7 separate regions of the Homo sapiens genome follow, and regions 2, 3, 4, 5, 6 and 7 are each linked to region 1. Evidence: promoter capture Hi-C in 16 types of primary human blood cells and fetal thymus (Javierre and others, 2016). All regions are on one chromosome and are shown on one strand. The core of a region is centred on a gene start or on the middle of the fragment in contact, and the rest is flanking DNA. Distances in the headings are between cores, read along the strand shown. Region 1 holds the start of MMP14 (matrix metallopeptidase 14). Region 2 overlaps TRD-AS1 (TRD antisense RNA 1). Region 3 overlaps TRD-AS1 (TRD antisense RNA 1). Region 4 has its middle 3.6 kb from the start of TRD-AS1. Region 5 has its middle 150 kb from the start of TRD-AS1. Region 6 overlaps TRD-AS1 (TRD antisense RNA 1). Region 7 has its middle 110 kb from the start of TRD-AS1.

Region 1 (2,757 bases), core at 252-2,751:
TCCTAAGATTCAGATATGTGGTCCAGGAGGTTACCCCCACTGGGAAGGCTGATGTGGGAAGAATCATACCTGGGTGTTGCGTGTTCTGCCGAGAGTGGGGTCCTGAGGTCTCCATGGTTCTGAATGCATTCCAGAGATTGGTTGAAGAGGGGCCTGTACCTCCCAACCCCAGCTTGTGTAGGAAAGCCCTACATAAGGGCTCAGCCCTCAGTCACTGTGGGGTAGGTAGCTGTTTAATAACACACACCATATACCTCCCACAAACCTGGAGGCTCCACAGGACCTGAAAAGCTTTTCATTTTATTGATCATGAATCTGAGGGCAAAAGACCTTTGTTTTCATTACAATACTGAGCACTAGACTTCTATTCTTCTGCCACAGAAGTGCATCCCTAGGATTTCTGGAGCTTCCTACCTGACCTAATTTCTGTCCACCCTCCTCTATTCCTTCCTTTGCTTTCTTCTCCCTTCCTCCTCGCACTACCTCTGTCCTCTCTCACTGGCCAAATGCAATTCTTGGATCTTAGATTTCGCTGATAGTCTAGTTTTCTGTCTCCCACACTTTTCCTGCTTCTGTTGTGCTTCTTTTCCAGACCTGTCTAGTTCCCAACTCATCTGTCTCCCTTTCTCACGGTCAGCTTTATCCTGCCCTCTCCCTTCCCTACATACCTCCACCTTTTGTTCTGAGTCCAGTAAGTCCCTAAAGGAGATTATAACTCTTTAAGAATTGCCTCCTTTTTCAGTGTAGAGGTGGAACTAAACCCCAGAGTCCCAACTCCCAATCCCTTCTTTTACAATAATTTCACCCAACTTGATTTGCTTTCCCCCAGATCCCACGGCCTTGTACCCTTTTCCTCCCAGCGAGTTCCAATTAAAGGTGCAGCCACATTACAAATGACAATAAAGGAATCACCTTTGTCTTTCTACAAAGGTTGGAGCCACAGATCCGGTATGGTTGTGGGGTTTGTTGTTGGTAGTTGGGTTATAGTTTGGATTTTTTAGCAGCAGAGGGAGGGACATAGACAGTTGTCTACAGGGCCCAGAAGATAACCCCCTATTAGTAAACTGGCCCCTTCTCCCTCTGCAGGTCTCATGGGCATGGAAGAAGACCCCACCACCATCCCACACTCTGAGCTCCTCGTTGCCCCTAGCCACATAGCCCCCAATAATTCCCACCCTGAGGTGAGACAAATGCTGAATACCAGAGGAATCAAGCCACTCAGAATATGCTTATAGGGACAAAGTCTCCCACATCCCGTCCCCTGGATCCCCCTACAGCCCCCTGCTGTCCATCGCGGCCTCAACCCCTGCAGATGGCAGCCTGCACCACAAAAAGGCAACTTAGAGGTGTTTTTTTTTTTTTTCCTTCCAGTTCTTGGTTGTAATTGGATTCAGGCTAAAACAACCACGTCCCCAACCAGGAAAGGAGGGCACTGGGGCGGGGACGGAGGAGAGGCTGTGGGAGAAGGGAGGGACCAGAGGAGAGAGCGAGAGAGGGAACCAGACCCCAGTTCGCCGACTAAGCAGAAGAAAGATCAAAAACCGGAAAAGAGGAGAAGAGCAAACAGGCACTTTGAGGAACAATCCCCTTTAACTCCAAGCCGACAGCGGTCTAGGAATTCAAGTTCAGTGCCTACCGAAGACAAAGGCGCCCCGAGGGAGTGGCGGTGCGACCCCAGGGCGTGGGCCCGGCCGCGGAGCCCACACTGCCCGGCTGACCCGGTGGTCTCGGACCATGTCTCCCGCCCCAAGACCCCCCCGTTGTCTCCTGCTCCCCCTGCTCACGCTCGGCACCGCGCTCGCCTCCCTCGGCTCGGCCCAAAGCAGCAGCTTCAGCCCCGAAGTAAGTGAGCTTCCCGGCCCTTCCCGGAGTCGCGCCCGCCGGGAGGCGAGCCCGGGGGTCTCCTAGGGGACAGCCTCTATTCGGAGAGGAGGGCTTTTGGGATCTCCGCTGCTCAGGCCTGCAGGATTCCCCCTCCCTTTCTTTTTCCTCTTCGTCTCCAAACTTCCAGATCGATCCAACTTTTGCCCGCTTCCAACCAGCTGCCCCCACCCCCTGCGCCGCCGACTCTCCTTCCCATTCCTTCTTTTTTCCCAGTCCTTGGAAGAACTTTACAACTGGGGCGAACTCCCCCTTCCCCGATTCCCTTGGGCTCTGCTCTCAGCTCTGGAACCGCCTGATAAACATTTGGACTCCGCTCAAACCCCGCGCTGTCCCGGCTCCTCGTCATGCGCGAGAGTTTGTTGTTTCTTCGACTTCCCAGCTCTCCAGCGCTCTCCCGCCGGCGCGCCCTCCGATGGGCGCTTCGGCCTCCCCGGGTGGCCCAGGCCTTCAGCGGACGAGTCTGCGGCCAGGTGGGGGTCGAGGGTGGACGGCCGAGCGTCCAGGGCCACAGCCCCCGTCTCCCCGAGAGGACCCCGCTGTGTCCCTACCCGCATCCCTGGCGTCGAGGGTCGCAGCGCCGGCGCGCTGGCCGCGTTTCCGTACACACAAAGCTCTCCTTGTGAGCCGGGCGATCGGCCGGGTCGCTGCCTCCCCCTATCCCCACCCGCGTCGGCGCCTTCAGGCCCTTTTTGTTGTTAATAGTTTTTCTGTGTTAATTGCAGGGAGCCTGGGGGCGTCGCTTGGGGAATGGGGAGAGGGTCTGGTCCGGGGTGCCCTCACGTCGGGGCTGGCTCGGGCGCCCCCCACCCTCACCCCGGCCCAGACGGTGGCCCACCGGGCCCCAGAGGAAGCTGCGTGGGAGTTGTCTGAGGA
Region 2 (2,700 bases), core at 32-2,531, 380 kb before region 1:
GAGTCAGAATGGACACAGAATGAAGCTGACTTGAGTCCAGGTGGTTTTACCAACGTGATTCCAAACGTTCTGACCTCCCTTATGCCAAACACATCCTCCTGGAAGAGCTCAGAACTGAATCCGTCTCCTGGGCATGGAGGGTGGGGCGAGCGCAAGTAGTCCCTGGTGTTGCGATATTTCTCTTTAGAAGAAAATAACCTGTTTCAGACATTTGTTTCTAATTGTTTGAGCTGCAAATGAAAACTAGGTTACTAGTGAGAAATATGGGACATTCTGGTTCCCACTGAGACCAGATTCCAAGCAGGACAAAGTGAATGTGTAGTGCTTCCAACTAAGAAATGCTTTGAAGTCTCCAGGACACAGCCAGGAGAGTTCCCTACCACTCACCAGTGTTCATCGTTTTTGCAAAGAGTATATGGTGCCAGTCACTTATTAACAGTTATGCAAGAATCAATGCTAAGGTTGTTGAAGGATTGTGCTCAACACAGAAGGCATCTTTGGTGTCCTTTCAATGACATTTGAATTCGACCGTGTCTTGCTAAAAAATAAAATAAAATAAGACAGTGGTCTCCACCTGGCAGCAGATTCCAGTTAGATAGTACATATTAATCTTAAGTAAGAAAATGTAATAAACCAATACAAAAACCCATTTCGAAGGTCCTAGGGAAGTCTAGCAATAGGGGTCAGTGGTCCCAAATCTGCCCAACCAGCTGTTGGAAAAGAAACAGCATGCCCTGCCCTGGCTGGGACTTTGGCACTCAGCTCAGGTTTTTCAAGGTAAAAGAAGGCTCTAGAGAGATAGGGTGGTGATGGTGGGCTCTTCTCAGAGACCAAATGGGGACAAAGCAGTTCCAGGCATATGCAGGCAAGGAGGCTGAGGAAGGGGAAGGACAGGCATGAGCAACCCAAGACCTCACACACTGCAGGGAGAAAAGGGGCAGGGGCCCTGCCGTCAGGGAGAAAGACACCCAAAGTTGTGCTAGTGGAGTCAGTGCAGAGATGTTCAGACTTTTTTAAAAAATCAACATCTTAGTAAGATTTTGAAATTTTAACTAATTTGGGCCTTTGCCTTTAGACCTTATTATCCTTAAAATTTTCACTAAAATAAGTTTATCCACAATTCCAACAAAGCTAAAGACTGATTATCCTAATTTCCCTTTGTTTGCCAAGTAAGGGATGAATTAAGTTCCTCTGTTTACCCATTTACTTGGTCCATATTTCCCTAACTGCGGAGTGCACAGCACATATTTTCAGATGGAGAGACGTTCTTTTTATTTGCATGGATCTATCTTTTAATGGCTATCAGAATAGTACAACTAGGCTATCAAACCCATGTGATTTCAAGTTTCCTTTTAATTATATTTTAAGTTAAAAAGTGAATAAATTTTTTTAAATTATTAAGCAAATTATGACAGATGACTATGACCAAAAAAGCGGGGGAGATGTGCTTAATTGAAGTTTGGGAAGTGCTGAACTTCATATTGGTGCATTTCATCAGCCTTTGAAGTGAAAAAGTAAGGGGTATCCAGAGGGGGCACAACCTAGAATATCTTTGAATGGCAGCTTCTATTTTTAAGCTACCAACATTGGATTAAAGAGACTGCACTGCAAACCCAGGGCCTTTATCTTCTCAGAAGCCTTTTGATGCTTTTTTTTTCCTTGGGAGCTTCTTTCAAGTTCTTACTTACGGAGCTCCTGGGTAGCACAAAACTAACAGAACAGGTCTATACAAACCCACAGCTGTAGATCCCACACTTTAGTCCTCTGGATACAGTAAACCTGGAGAGACCACTTAGCTTCGTAAAACAGAACAGAGAAACAGGACAAAACAGCATGGAATAAAGTAATGGAAACGTGTACTTCTATGGTAACAACAGCGGCAGTGGGGAAAAGAGGCATGGTCGTTGGGAACATCTGCGTGGAAGTGGGCCATGTGATGGACTTTGAATGCAATCTATTATTGTATGTCACAATTATGTAACTACCACTTTTTGAGTGCCTACCATTTATTAGGCCACTGGGCTAAGTCCTTTAATGATTATCACTTCACTCAGTCCTCACTACGATCATGTGGAATTGAGGTACCATGACTTGCGTTTTATGGATCAGGAAACTGAATCTTAAAGGGGTTCCTCAAGATCACACAGCTTAGTAAAGTCATCATTTGAATCACCTGCTTGATGCCAGCATCTGTGCTCTTAAGAAGTCTGCTCTTCCATCAGGGCTGCAGCTAGACTAGGGCATGTGTGGAGGTTTTTCCTGCCTGGCCCAGCCTCTGCCTCAGGTCTCTAATGAGCTCCTTTTCAAGCTGAATCAGAAACAACAGTTATGCCACTTCCCTTCCAGTGCCATCCCCATCACTTCTCTCACCAAGGAAGAACTTCTGAACCCCCGCCAAAACCAGTTACCCAAAGCAGCATTCCCCTTCCCCAGGAGGAGCCAGGTGAGGCCCATCTCTCACATTACACCCCTGGAGACCCAGGGTCCCTAAATACAGAAAGGTCCAGACGATGATCAGAGCATCACTCTTTCCCTCAAGAAAAGGAGTCCACATAATTCTGGCCTCATCAAAATGTTTCTCAGATTCCAAAAGATGACCTTCCCATTCCTCCAGGCCCACTAGCCCTTGGCCTGGCATCTGGCACTCCCTCTCACTCCCAGTCAGCATCTCCCAGAACAGAGCCTTTGCACCTGCAAGTC
Region 3 (2,700 bases), core at 106-2,605, 450 kb before region 1:
TCCTTCTCCAATTGAGAAGCAATGGGGTGGTGGTTGGAGTCTTGTTGATGTCCTTTGTCCTCGGAGTGAGGCAAACAGTGAGGCTTCAGATGTTATTGGCACTAACAGCAGGGCCTGGAGGTGGCCACACTCTTGTGGAAGGACCATGCAGAGCTGTCCCTGTGGGCAGTGTAGGTGCATAGCCAAGACTGAGGGATGTTTTAATAACTACTTCTCAATAAGAAGTCCTATTTTATTCTGCACAGGGGTGTGGACCCAATCCAGGTCTCCCAGGAGGAATCTACTCTCACCCATAATAGGGGATTGGTTCAGCTCAGCTGCGCTCACAAAGGGCTATACAGCATGCAGCAGTACAGGCAGCTCCCCGCAGCTCCATGTGAAAATGACTCACAGCAGTTATGAACATCAAACCTCCTTTGATGTGTTCCCAGACATGAAGAACAGCCACGGGAGGAGGAGACGGACTCTGGTTGCTAGCTCTGTGGGGTGGCGCACAGAGGGCCTGGACACATCTGGTACCATCCTGAAGCTCCAGGAGAAATTCAGGCTGGGTAATTACCTAGGACTTCCTAGGATAACAGAGCTTCTTTCATCTATCTCTCTCCCTCCCTCTCACTGTCTTTCTGTCTCCAGCTACAAGGGAATTAGATTCTCCAAGGAATTACAACCTGTTTCTGTACCTTCACCTTTCCCGAGGAGATAACAATTCACATCCCTGAATAAAAGTTGTTTTATTGAGCACAAAATGAATGCACCCCCCTCGCTCAGCATCTGTGCCAATTGCCTTAAAGCTATAGACCTGGCCTCCATCAGCCAAGTGAAAGGATTTTCCTCTGTCATGGCCATTTCCAGACTCTCAGCCTTTTGAGTAGCCACATGGTACCTTGTCCTCCTAATAGGCTCTCAATGATGATTGAATACAAAGGCTCTAATTCTCTGTTGCATTGGCAGCTCCCAAGACTGGGTCGATCACAATCGTCCACAGCAGAAGACAGCGGTGCTGACGGTCAAATGAGCATCAGGGCACACAGCAGAAGGGGAGGGTCAGCCACTGTCCCTTCATGCCCATTTCAACAGAAAGCTTATTTATATGCAAGAGGTGTTCCCCTTCCAGACAGGGTTCAAGAGCACATTGGTCCCTGGAAACTTGAGCAAAGTCTTCACGGTTATAGAAGGGAGTGGCAAAGGACATGTAGGAGAGAATCAGTTCCACCCCATGCCTGCACATTTCATTTTCTGAAATGAAAAGCTCTCATACACTCACAGAGATCTGCACATACCCACACATGGAAATAGCATAAACAGCTACTCTTTACTGAGCAGTGACCACGTGTCAGGCACAATGCCTCGGGCTTCACATGCATCATCTCTAATCCTCATCGACGTTCTGGGTGTGGGAGTGAAGGCATCCCTGTTTTATGGATGAGGAACCTAAGGTCAGAAAGGCTAAGAAACTTTCTTAAGATTGAACAACTATGGTAGAAGAGCTACAATTCTAGATGGTTGGATTCCAAAGCATCATCTCTTAACCACTGTACTATGGGGCAATATGCTTATAAGCAAGTGCTTACTCTGTTGGAGGCACTGGGGTTATGAGATAGTGCAGGAAAGACATAGTTATTCACTTCGCAAAGCTTCATTTTTACCGCACACTCATGCACACAGTGCTACACACACACATGCAGAGTTACTATAACTGTGGTGTCTTCCAAGAGCCCTGTCACTAAGGTATCCTCAGTGTCGTACTCTCAGTCCTCCTGCACTTGAACCACAGTTTGAATTGTGCATAGGGTAAAGACTGAGGTCTTCTACAGAAAGGCCTAAGCTGCTTGAACTTTACAGACAATTATGTGAGCAATTCAACCTTTTATACATTATGCTGTAGTTACCCAGCTCCTGAACTAGTCATCAGGTATTTTATTTGTTTTTTAACGTGATCAGGAAGTTTCTCTGACTCATTTCTCTATCTTTGCAGAGGAACAAGGTAGGAGAGCAACAGGGGCAGGAACAGAGAGGATTTCAAGCTTGATGAAGGTTCAGTAAGTCAAGTCATAGGTCAACTAGAAGAAATAAAGCAGGGGAAGATTTGGGGTGGGGCTGAAGCTCCATTGTTTCCATGACACCATAAGATAAGTGGTGATCTAGGTGATCTAGGTGTGCAAAGGTGAAACAAAACGAAAGACGCAAACATTGTACTAGTTTCAGGTTTTGCCAAGAGCAGATTGGCTGCCAAGGCTACTTCAGCCTTGACTCATATAGATCCATGATCTGGGAGGCAAGACAGCGTCCTGCTGTGCTGGACATCTCAGTGACATTGACCCAACTGGGGGAACTCCCTGAGGTTAAGAAAACCTCCCTCCAAGGCTGAGTTAATGAACTACCTAGATGTAAGACAGGAGACTGAAAACATTTAAGTCCCAGGAAAAATGCAGACTTACCTTCTTATGACCTAGATCTCTTTGCAAATCTAATGAAAAAGGTTTGTTATGCACAAATGTTTCCCTCCAATTTTATTTCAGGAGATTTGTGCTCTTTCCTGGACTGCCCCTGAACCTGGAGGTAATAATTCTAGATCAAAGTCTCCCTAGAACCTTGAAAAGGGTGGACTGAGAAGACTGGATATACAGCTCTAGGCAACCAGTCCTCCACTGCCACCACCATGCTTTCTAATCTCCAGGGGAGCCTGGTCATCTTGCTGGA
Region 4 (2,700 bases), core at 39-2,538, 350 kb before region 1:
GACAGGGTTTGATCATCACCACATCATGAAACTGCCTGGATTTTGCTCTTCACATTTTTTGTGACATCCAGACACAGCCAGGGTGACTCCCAGGATTCCTGTGGTTGTGTCTGTTGGCAACAGAAGCATTATTTGGTCAAGGGATGAAATTTACAGGAACCCCAAGTAAATGTGCAAAAGCCTGCCCCTAATAGAGACCTCACTTAACCCTACCACTGTGGTCACCGGGCTGCTCTGTGAGGTCAGAACACCTCAGGTGAGACTGTGGAGTAACCAGATGTCCTGGTTTTCCTGGGTTTCAGGGGTTTTCCAGGACAAAGGTCATTCTTTGCTAAGCCCAGAATGATCCCCAGGATAGTTAATCACCGTAAGAAGGCACAGATAAAAACTTTTTTCTGTGAGCTACTACTTACATTTCACCAAATTCAAGACTGACAAAAAAACTACGTTGTGTGAAAGCTCAGTTACATGTGCCCATCATTTTTATTTCTTATGCTAGGGCATGAAGGGAAGCTCAGGAGATCCTGTTTCATGAGGCTACAGTCTAAATCTCATCTAATTCTAGTCATTCTCCAAAAAGCTGAACACTCTCCTCTTGTCTCCTTGTAATCAATTCATTGTCATCAGAAATGTGTGACACCTCGAGGGGAGGGGAGGACGTGTCTTGAAAACTGATCAGAGAAATTGTCCTGAAAATGATGCTGTAAAATGGAAATGAGACCTTTAGAAAGAGAGATGCTGAACATGAGAAATCAGTAAGCCTCAAGACAAAAACCAGAGGAAATGGAGAGAGATGGGAGGCAGGAAGCCGGACCTCGGGGGACGCAGCAGGTCAGTGTCCCAGGACCAGAGGTGGAAATGGTCTTCCAGCCTTTGGTGGGATGAAACTGAGCCTCACAGACCCAGGCCCCTTTGGGTGAGTTTATTCTCCCCAGAATTAAAAGAGGAGGAAGTCTGCGAGCTTCAGAAGTCCCCCTAGGGTTCTTGTAAAGGCCTCCAGTGCAGTGCTAATGCTGGTGGTACTAGCTATGGAAAGCTGACATTTGGACAAGGGACCATCTTGACTGTCCATCCAAGTAAGTGTAACAAGACACAGCAGTATACTGGAAATTCTGGAATGTCACCCCAGTGTCAGGTTTTAAAGAACCAGATATTGCTTAAAGTTAAGTGGTGTCCTCTGAGGTCCTTTCTCTTCTTTAACCTCAATATTCACAGATTTTCTTTTGGACCCTGAGTTGTTAGGTCTGTCTCCCTGCTGCGTGTACAGCTGACCTTGACCCTGGAAAGTCAGAATCTTTCCTGCTTTCAGTGTCTTCTCTGGAGGTGATGCCCTAACTTTTTTGAGGGGGAGGTCATCCTTTCCAAATGACTCCCCTGAGTAACCTGTTCTAATGTTTAGTAGCATTCCCTGTCAGAAGTCCTTCCTTACCTCAATCTTAAATTATTCTTGGTATAGCCGAGGCCGTTTCCACCAGCATCATCCACAATAAAGAGGAAAATTGAGAGCGGAGTTTGAATAGGTATGTGGTATTTGGTTCAGAATGGGTTTTAAATGAAAGTGGAGAGGGAAAAAATGAAACCTGAATGGGAATCTGAGGTCTTATTTCAAATCCCTCTCTGTTTCCTGTCTGTCATCTCCTTTTGCTTCTATAGATGCAAAACTACAGAGAGAGAGGCGGGGAGAGAAAGGATAGACAGAAATAAACATCCACTGTGTCCATTCCCTGTCACTGAAACCACCAGGCAAGGGATTACAATTAATTCCAAAGAGTTTCAGATACACGGCTTAATACCTTTCTCCTTGTGGTGACTTGTATCCTGGCTGATAATTAGAGCAGATAGAAAGATTTGGCTTTGGTGTGTTTGCCGCTGCACCCCGCTGGGAAGAGACAGAAACTTGACTGTTTTTTAAGATTCATAAAGTTCCTTCTGTCAGTCGTTGTAAAACTCCCTGAAGCAGGGAGATGCGTGACAGCTATGAGAAGCTGATATTTGGAAAGGAGACATGACTAACTGTGAAGCCAAGCAAGCTGGAAAGACCTAAACTCACAGTGTTCCTTATGTACTTTTGCTCCCTTCCCCGTTTCAGGCCTTTTGGCTGTTTCCTGTAGGGATTCTAAGAGAGTCAAATGGAAATGGATTGAAGAGAGTCTGAAGCCCCGTGGGTGCTCAGAAATGATAAATGAAAGGAATAAGAGACAGAAAGGGAAACAAAGTTGAAAAGCAGGAATATGTCTTTCACTGCAGCTTGATAAGACTGAGATGTGAGGTGGGTGTCAGAGAAGGGCATGATCGCTCCAGCTGCTATTGCAGAACACTCTGTTTTCCTAGGATCTCTATCAAGGGCAGTGTCCTCTTATGCCAAAGGGATGAGTCAAGTCCCTATATTTCTGGAGTAGCTGCCCTTGTGCAGGCATAGTTGGTCAGGCAGACAGCACAATCCCAGCTCAGTGTGTATGGAGGAGGCCACCTGACATTGCCAGCTGTATCTGCTCCATTCAGTGGCAGCATAAATCCATACCAGGTGGGTGTGGATTTGGAATATGCCAGTGCCACTACAAGGCTGAATGTTGAGTTGTTGTGATCATCTTGAATGTGTGAGATGCCTCCAAGTGAAGTCTGGTTCTAATGAGCAGGGTGCAGGTTGGACCAATATTGCCCATTTTCTGTTGAGTTTCTCCAAGCCCAGTAGTGTGGGAG
Region 5 (2,700 bases), core at 138-2,637, 510 kb before region 1:
TCACCAACTTCAAACCTCAGTTTCTACTGTTATAAAGTTCATTTCACTCTCTCTTGTGACCATTTAAATACTTTCACATATTTCATCGCATTTTTCATCTTCTAGGGCTGAGGACTCCTAATTCTTAAGAATATTTCTGTTATCCCTATAATTACTGTCGTGTCTCTCCAGGCATTCTTTTTTAGTGAACAGTTGTCATTAATCACTTCCAGAAAGGATTCAAACACCATCTCTACATTTATCCTTCCAAGTGCTGTGACTATTGCCTTGCGAACTACATTTTCCAGGCTCCCTTGCAGCTAAGGTGCAGATCTGTATTCAGCCAAGTATTTGATTGGGAGATGAGCCATATGAGGAACAGGTTAGGCAGGGGCATCCCTTTTCTTGGTTTAGGGGCAGTGGAGGCCATGTGGTCTGGGTTAGGCAGCAACAGCATCTTCTTGATTGGGCCAGGAGCAGTAACTTCCTGTTTGGGCCCATTTGGCTGCATATTCTGTTGCTGGCAGCACTGGAGGCAGCTGGCATAGGGATAGGACTGCAGCCTTCTTATGAGGCTGATGGATGGGTGGTTCTGGGCATCACTCCTGGAAGTCGAGCCTAGAATCTTTTTCTCCAGTCTGCCCAATGATTCTATGAGCCTTCTGCCTCCCCAAATCCTGATCTGCTTACACTAGGTAAAGCGATTTCCTTTCTTTCTTGTCCCTTAGCACACAGATATCTCACAGTGTTTAGTCTGAGACCCACCACAGCTTTCATTCCAGCATCCTTTAAGCTGAGTATCAGACCTGGTTCACTTTTTCACTGCAGTACACTTGGCTCATTCCAATGAGGATGACTTCATGTTTATAGTGATTTCTGGTTCCTTTGCTTGGAAATCCTAAAAGATAGAAAAGAGTCTCCAGTTGCTGCAGACGCAGGCATGAGATATACCGAAAACTCTCCAAAATTGTCTCTTGGAATGTTTCTTCATTACTTCACTAGGTTTCTTTCTAACCTTCAGAGCTAGTAAGGACCTTGGATTAAAAGGGCCATTGAATTTCTAGTTTAGTTAAGAAATATTTTCCTCATTTCATGGGAGTGGGGAAGCAGTGCAGACTAAACTCAGAGCCCACATCATGTTGTTCTTACCAGTTCAAATCAAATCACGGTTTCCAGTCACTTGGCTAATATTTATCCTTCTTTAAATCTTGATGAAATGTCTCTTCCTCAATGAACACTTCTCTGCCCCTCAACCTAAATTTGTTCCCCTCGTGTTACTGTTTTAAAGAACCCTGTAATTTCTATGTATTTCTGTGTGATTATTTGTATAATATCTGTCCTTCCTATTAACCTCTAAGTTCCACTAAATGCTCTGTGTTCAGAATAGTGCCTGGCACAAAGGAGTATGACAAATAGTGATGAGTGAATGAATCTGAGCCATCAGACATGTATCTTACTTTGTGTTGGGCTGTCCCTCAAGTGTAGATGTTCCTAGTGACAATCCCATTAATTCAAACACTGACTGGAGAGGATTGAAAACATATGAAGCAGTGCTTTTGGAACTGAGGCTGTAGTCCAATATGACTGGAGATAAAAAATGAAGACTTTAAAAACAGAATTCACATAAAAGCAGGTATCAACATGGAAAACTGCAGAGGATGCCTGTATACACAGTGGGCACAGCAGCAGCATTAGACCAATCACCTCCAAACTTGAGGTTCCAGGCTGAGGTGACAGATCAGAGTGAACCAGGCACTGTAGAACAATGGGAACACTTAGATTCCTGACACTGGAATTTGCTGATTCTTCTACTAACGTGTAGCAAGAAATTTAGCCTTACCCAAAGTCAGGTCTGGTCTTTGTCCCAGTTCCTGGGAGATAACCTCTGAAGGCTCGGAATTTCCTGAATTGTTGGCATGTCTTTATAATTGATGGTGGGGTCCTTGGACCGCACTTAATAGTTTCTGCTATCAAGATGACTCATTGTGAGGCTGGCCACAATCAATGGTCTCAGGATGGGGGCTGGCCATGCCAGAAAGACCAACCATATAACATAGGGTGGAGGGTTTGTGTCACAACCTAGAGAGTGAGTTCAACCACACAGGCTATCAGTCATCTGATATAATGAAGCCCCAATAAAAACTCTGGACACCAAAGCTCAGCTGAGTTTTCCAGACTGGCAATATTCCATGGGTATTGTCACGCCTTGATGCTGGGAGGGTAACTCATCCCTGAGGACAGTGGAAGTTTCACGTTTGGAACCCTACCAGACTCTGCCCTATGCATCTCATCCCTTGGCTGCTTTTAATGTATCCTTTCTCTGTAATAAACGAATCACAAGTATACTAGGTTTCAATGAGTTCTATGAGTCTTTCTAGTGAATTATGGAACCTGATTTAGGAAATACCCAACCTTGCCATTGGTGCCAGTAGTGAGAGTGGTCTTGCATGAACTTATCTCCCCTTTGTAGTTGAGTCCTAGCGACTTACAGTTGGGGGCAGAAGTCTTATGTAGATTTAGTCTGGAGGTCTATGACCTTAACCTTGCAGTTTGGCTAACTCTGGGTAGCTACATTTTGTATTGAGCAACTCTATATGAATAAAAGAAGTTTTGTTCATATAATGCCTTAACAGTGAATCAAGTATATCAAGAAAGTTTTTTAAAAGTTAAAAGTAGGCAAGTCTACTGGTAATAAAGTAGGCAAGTCACAAGGTAATTAAA
Region 6 (2,700 bases), core at 146-2,645, 430 kb before region 1:
TGAGTCAATATACTTTTTACCACACCACGATGGATTATCCATGGAAACCCAGAATCTTGTGCCACATACCTTCAATTCAAGATCAAGCCAAAAAAAAAGATCCACAAATTATTGGTGTCTGATTAAGTCTGATTGGGAAGAAGAGGAACAAGAGACACAAGAATGTGTGCGTCCAGTGGTCCAATCCTGCAGGATGAATGAGGACATGAAGTTCTGGCCCGTGATGGATTGGGGTAATGTAGAACCAGAGGTTGGCCTGGGGTTAGCATGAAAAATAGCCTAGAGACAAGGAGGAGGAAATCCTGGGAGAAAATACCTGGACTGCCCAACAATCTGAGGGTCTGCGCACAATGAAAAAAGAAACCAGACAAAAATTAAAGTAAAAAACCTGGAGAAATTTAAATAATTCCTGTGCTTACTAGCAGGTAATTAAGGAAGCATTTTATGTAACATCTGAAGCCTCAGATTTAGGGGGAGACAGGGCCACTGAAGGCCCTAGCATAGTAAGGGCATGGACCAAGTTTCTCTGCAGAAATCCCGAAGCCAAATGAGCGATATGAACACCCACTATTATTTTTGTATTATTCATTTTCTTTTTTTCTTTCTTTCTTTTTTTTTTTTGAAACGGAGTCTCATTCTGTCACCCAGGCTGGAGTGCAGTGGCGTGTTCTCAGCCTACCATACCCTCCTCCTTCCAGGTTCAAGCAATTCTTCTGACTCAGCCTCCCGAATAGCTGGAATTACAGGCACCCACTACCACGCCTGGCTAATTTTTGTATTTTTAGTAGAGACGGGGTTTCGCCATGTTGGCCAGTCTGGTCTCGAACTCCTGACCTCAGGCGAATCGCCTGCCTCAGCCTCCCAAAGTGCTGGGATAACAGGCGTGAGCCACCGTGACCAGCCTGTATTGTTAATTTTCTTCCCCCTCCACTGGTAAGGACAATTGAGAGTTGACTAAATTCTTATTATTGTTGCCTCCACTGTTCTGCTTTCTGTGATTCTTATCCATCATGAGAAGGGCTGACTTGGAAGAGTTCAGAGCAGTGAAGAGAAATCCCAGAGAGTGTCTGCCAACACTCAAAAAGACTTTGAATTTGACGTCAGAATAGGAATAGGCTTGCCACTCTCACCAGCCTCCCAAGAAGAGTCATTGGGCAGGCTGGATGGCTAGAAAAAGAAGATACCTGTCTGATGCCCAAAGGCAGCTAGAAGGCATCCTGGCTTCAGGAACAGTGCCATCACCTGGCTGCCCTCACAAAGAGGTCATCCAACATTGTGAAACCATGACTATGAGTGAAAGGCAAGAGAAAATAAGGGAATCTGAAACCATGTGAATATGCCACTTCCTCTGCATCACGGGACACCAGAGACGGGCAACGAAGAGAATGTTACTTCTATCATATAACACATTCTCGATTCGGAAGGTGCCACAGCCTTGAGAAAGTCCTCATTACACCATCTTGAAAGCTCTCAGGGATGATATAGGTAGGGTCCAAATAAGAAAATGGACTCAAGGAAATCCAAATTGTGACCTTCACTTTGAACAATTAAAATTTTAAACAGAAAATTAGAATCGTTGAATTTGAAATCCAGAAAGGATCTTAAAAACAAAGTAGGAATCCCCTCATTCAGTTTAAATGTTCACTAAATATTGAATGAGTAAGTGATCACCCAGCCTCAATTCAAATATTTTCAATGACAATTCTTGTTTCAAAAAATCTGTCCTATACCAAATCAAAATTTGCCTCCCATAACTTCATATCTTTATATTTGTTATGCCTTCCAGAGCAACGCAGACTAAGTTCACCTTCGCATATTCAAATATTTAAAGATAGCTATCCTGTATAACCATTCCTCATGACTGTCTAATAAATTTTAAACTCCTTGAGAGAAGCATCCAAGTTCAATATATTTTCCTGTACCAATGCAATTCTTAATAGAGTGACTCATCTGTAGCGGGTAGTCAGCAAATGTGAGTTGAATACATGAATTAATATCTATGTGTCCACCTGACCAACAGTTCTACTCGGGTGTCTCAAAGGCACTTCAGCTCAACTCCAAGACTTAAATCAAGATCTTCCTTGCAAATATGGCCCTAGCCTAAGATTCCCTATCTGAAGGAATAACACCATCATTTCAAACCCATCCACTGCTCTCCATCCACTGCCACCAGCCAGGTCAAAACTACCATTTTCTTCTTTGGATTGTTTCTATAGCCTTTTGAGTAAGTTAGCCGGCCTCTGGTACTATTCAGTATCTCCTCCCCACAGCAGCCAGAGTGATCTCTCCAAAATACAAATATGATCATGTCATGCCCCTGATTAAAAATCCTTGAGTAACTTCCCATTGCAGATAGGCAAATGACCAAAATCCCTAAAAGTCCTCTAAGACCTTGCACAGTCTGACTCCTCACCTCTTCTGCCATACCTCTCACTCTTCTCTCCCTCATTTTCCAAACATGCCTTCTTCCATCTATTAAATACTTGAATGTACCGGGTGCCTTCCCACCCCAGGGTCTTTGCAACACTTCTCCCACTCCTCATCCCCTGTTTAACTCCTATTGAAAGGAGTTAAACAAAAAAGATCAAAGCCTACACATCCGCTTTTCAGAGGCATCTTGAGATCTCCTAACAATTTCAGGTTGTTTATTCTTTAATGCTTTCATATATCAGTTTGTAATATTTTATTAATTTGATTATG
Region 7 (2,700 bases), core at 49-2,548, 460 kb before region 1:
TACATATATTGATTTACTATAGCAATGAAACCACATCTGGAACAGCAGCTGTGATTGTACTCACCACCTGATTAAGTTTACAATAATCCTTTGTCATTCTTCAAGATCCATCTGTCTTCTGCACAGGCCAGATAGTTGAGTTGAATGGAGGTGTGGTGAAAATCACCAGCCCTGCATCTTTTAAATCTTTTATAGAGGCACTAATCTCTACAAGTCTCTACAGAATGCAGTGCTGCTGTGGATTTACTAGTTTGGAATACAAAGGCAGTTCTAATGCCTTCTACTTGTCCTCACTCCTCAGATCAGATAATCAATGTAGTTATTCTGCCTTTCCTGAGTGTGCCTCCTTCAGTTAAGCATTCTAGAACTTGGGAAATAACCATGGGGTAAGTTCAGAGCTAACTGGATGCAATATGAGATGGACCTGAGCCAAAATACCATTAATCATTCAGCTTCAATAAACCCCTACTCTGGTAAATAGGCAATAGTAGCATATTGTGTCTCCAAGGACTGGTATCATTTCAGAGCCAATGTCCAGAAATCCCCCAAAGGTCTGGTTATTTACCCTTCCCAAATGCACTATGACCTTGGCAAATGGCTTTAGGTCTTTTCAGGGAAGGAAAGAAAGAGAAATTACAGTCTAAACTTTTGGAATGTAAATATAAATTAGAAAAAATCCTGCAGTCCTTTTGGCAGGCAGGGTACCTCATCATTTTGTTCCTGCCCTGATATGGGTTGCCAGGAGTTGAGTCTAGCTATAGGCATACAAACAGTGAAAGATGTTGGGGGTGAGTCTTGAGGGGTCTCAGCAATTTTCCACAGAGTAAGTCCTTACAGCCTTTTCAATCAAGGGAGGACTAAACTCCTCAGAGGGAAAGGCTGCTTCTGCTGGGAAAGGAGACAGGGCTTTCAAGGTTCTCAGCTTCCAAAGAATCTGCCTACATGTTGCCATCTCAATTTTCAGGGGAGGAAAGAAGGAGAAATTACAGTCTAAACTTTTGGAATGTAAATATAAATTAGAAAAATCCTGCAGCCCTTTTGGCAGGCATGGTACCTCATCATTTTGTTCCTGCCCTGATACAGCCTGCCAGCTCTGTCCCAATCAAAGCCCTAATTTTAACTGTAAGACCTTCAATTGAATTGATGTTCTAATCTAGCTAGCTGCAGGATCAGTCTTTGGGCTTGGTTTTTTGAAATATCAGATCTTGCAGCTATGAGAGATAAGAGTTTCTTTCAGAGTAGTCACAAAGACTTTTCAGTCCCTTGCCTGCATCTTGAACTGAACATTCAACACTCTGAGTTTATTTCTTTTTCTCCATATTCTCTGTGACACTTTGAAGCAACCCACAAACTCCAGTCCTCATACTCCTTACTTCCACTACATTGGTCTATGGCAGCATCTACCTGGTAATCTAACACCTTGCCTTCTATAAGCACTTGATATCAAGGACTACTGTGTCCCATTTACCATTGGCAGTATAGTCACTAATGCTTCATCGAATCAGAGAATCAACACCAAATTCCCATCCTTAAAATTCTATCTCTGGATTCACTTCCAACACCAATAGTTGTGTCAGTTAAGAGTCAGTCAGGGAAGCAGAACCACTGTGAATGATACAGAATATAGGAATAGTGGATTCGTTGTGGAATCAGACCTTACAAATGTGAGAGAAGCTAGAGAAGGAAAGGTCTGGAAGAAGGAGTCAGAAGATCAGAAAAAGGGTCATTAACCTGTCTATCTTATGCAGTAGCACAGATGGACCAGACAGGCTGGGGCTTGGGGGAAATCTAGGAAGCTAAACACTTTCAACCACCAAAGTGGGACTGTGAAGGGGAGCTCATGAAGAACTGTATGGAGAGTGGTTACCTGTCTGTAGCAACCACTTCTGTGGGTCCACAGCCAAGTAGTTGGTGATGGGTCTCGAGTCACTGTTGTTCAGCAGAGCCAAGAGTCAGAAAGATTCGCTGGATGCAGAGTGAAGGAAAGCAAGGACTATATGGGACCTACCAAGCATCTCTCCCTCTGTCCATCACTGTATGTGACCACAGTGACTTCCTAAGAGTAATAGTTACCACTTCTGTGTTCTAACTCTTTTCCCATTTCATCTCTTAGCCAATGCTAATACAGAGCGATACATGAAAGGGGATTCTGAGAAATGCAGTTGTCTGCTTAAGCAAGTTGACCAGCATAATCCAGCACAACTTCTAAATCTCAGAAGATAGCAAATGTGGGCAGAAAGAAAAGTACAGATGCTCCACGGGTTCACTGGTGATCTTTATGGCTGCAACTGACCTAGGATTTGGGAGATGCTTGGAGAGGGACAGAGGGGCACACAGGAACTTTCCTCTCAAATATGAGGATATCAATCTAGATCTACGAGGAGTCCTTTTGGAGATAAAAAGAAATTTATAGGAGATGATGAACAAAAGGCCCAATTTCTATATTAGACTGTCTCCCTGAATGAGGGTGAATACCAAGAGGAGACTGAGCCAAGGCCTCAGCCCTCTGAATTCTAAAATGTAGAGAACTTCATTCTGATCTATTTTATACAAATGGTGCTGGTCTCTCAGACAGTACCTTTTCCGATGAAAGAAAGAGAGAAACGAAGTAGAAGATTCGTAACCCAGCTCAGTAAAGAGGCTTACCTTTGCTCTTTGCTCACCATCATTCCCCCGCTCAAAGTCTCAGCTACCTGCCTC

The links. Contacts are between HindIII fragments. The CHiCAGO score rates a contact against its expected background, and 5 or more counts as called.
Region 2: a fragment that was not itself captured here is called in contact with the fragment with the promoter of MMP14 in region 1 in 1 of 17 cell types (naive B cells); the score reaches 5.5 in naive B cells.
Region 3: a contact is called between a fragment that was not itself captured here and the fragment with the promoter of MMP14 in region 1, in 3 of 17 cell types (naive B cells, total B cells and endothelial precursors). The highest score is 19.3, in naive B cells.
Region 4: a fragment that was not itself captured here is called in contact with the fragment with the promoter of MMP14 in region 1 in 1 of 17 cell types (total B cells); the score reaches 5.5 in total B cells.
Region 5: a contact is called between a fragment that was not itself captured here and the fragment with the promoter of MMP14 in region 1, in 1 of 17 cell types (naive B cells). The highest score is 5.2, in naive B cells.
Region 6: a fragment that was not itself captured here is called in contact with the fragment with the promoter of MMP14 in region 1 in 1 of 17 cell types (total B cells); the score reaches 5.3 in total B cells.
Region 7: a contact is called between a fragment that was not itself captured here and the fragment with the promoter of MMP14 in region 1, in 1 of 17 cell types (total B cells). The highest score is 7.4, in total B cells.

Annotation. Positions count from the first base shown.
Region 1 is chr14:22,835,084-22,837,840 of GRCh38, forward strand. MMP14 (matrix metallopeptidase 14) reads left to right here and starts at 1,502. Exons shown (of 10, transcript NM_004995.4): 1 at 1,502-1,842. The coding sequence starts at 1,735. RefSeq lists a silencer at 1,160-1,376. The HindIII fragment of the contact is 13,873 bases long and covers 290-2,757 here.
Region 2 is chr14:22,450,439-22,453,138 of GRCh38, forward strand. The region is part of intron 2 of TRD-AS1 (TRD antisense RNA 1); the gene reads right to left. It also overlaps TRA and TRD. Among named protein-coding and RNA genes, the nearest start is that of TRD-AS1, 31 kb to the right of the region's middle. The HindIII fragment of the contact is 5,990 bases long and covers 1-2,700 here.
Region 3 is chr14:22,389,060-22,391,759 of GRCh38, forward strand. All of the region lies in intron 2 of TRD-AS1 (TRD antisense RNA 1), which reads right to left. It also overlaps TRA. Among named protein-coding and RNA genes, the nearest start is that of TRD-AS1, 93 kb to the right of the region's middle. The HindIII fragment of the contact is 553 bases long and covers 1,080-1,632 here.
Region 4 is chr14:22,485,221-22,487,920 of GRCh38, forward strand. It overlaps TRA, TRAJ52 and the pseudogene TRAJ51. Among named protein-coding and RNA genes, the nearest start is that of TRD-AS1, 3.6 kb to the left of the region's middle. The HindIII fragment of the contact is 4,249 bases long and covers 1-2,700 here.
Region 5 is chr14:22,327,617-22,330,316 of GRCh38, forward strand. It overlaps TRA. Among named protein-coding and RNA genes, the nearest start is that of TRD-AS1, 150 kb to the right of the region's middle. The HindIII fragment of the contact is 6,538 bases long and covers 1-2,700 here.
Region 6 is chr14:22,405,935-22,408,634 of GRCh38, forward strand. All of the region lies in intron 2 of TRD-AS1 (TRD antisense RNA 1), which reads right to left. It also overlaps TRA. Among named protein-coding and RNA genes, the nearest start is that of TRD-AS1, 76 kb to the right of the region's middle. The HindIII fragment of the contact is 5,358 bases long and covers 1-2,700 here.
Region 7 is chr14:22,370,864-22,373,563 of GRCh38, forward strand. It overlaps TRA. Among named protein-coding and RNA genes, the nearest start is that of TRD-AS1, 110 kb to the right of the region's middle. The HindIII fragment of the contact is 3,763 bases long and covers 1-2,700 here.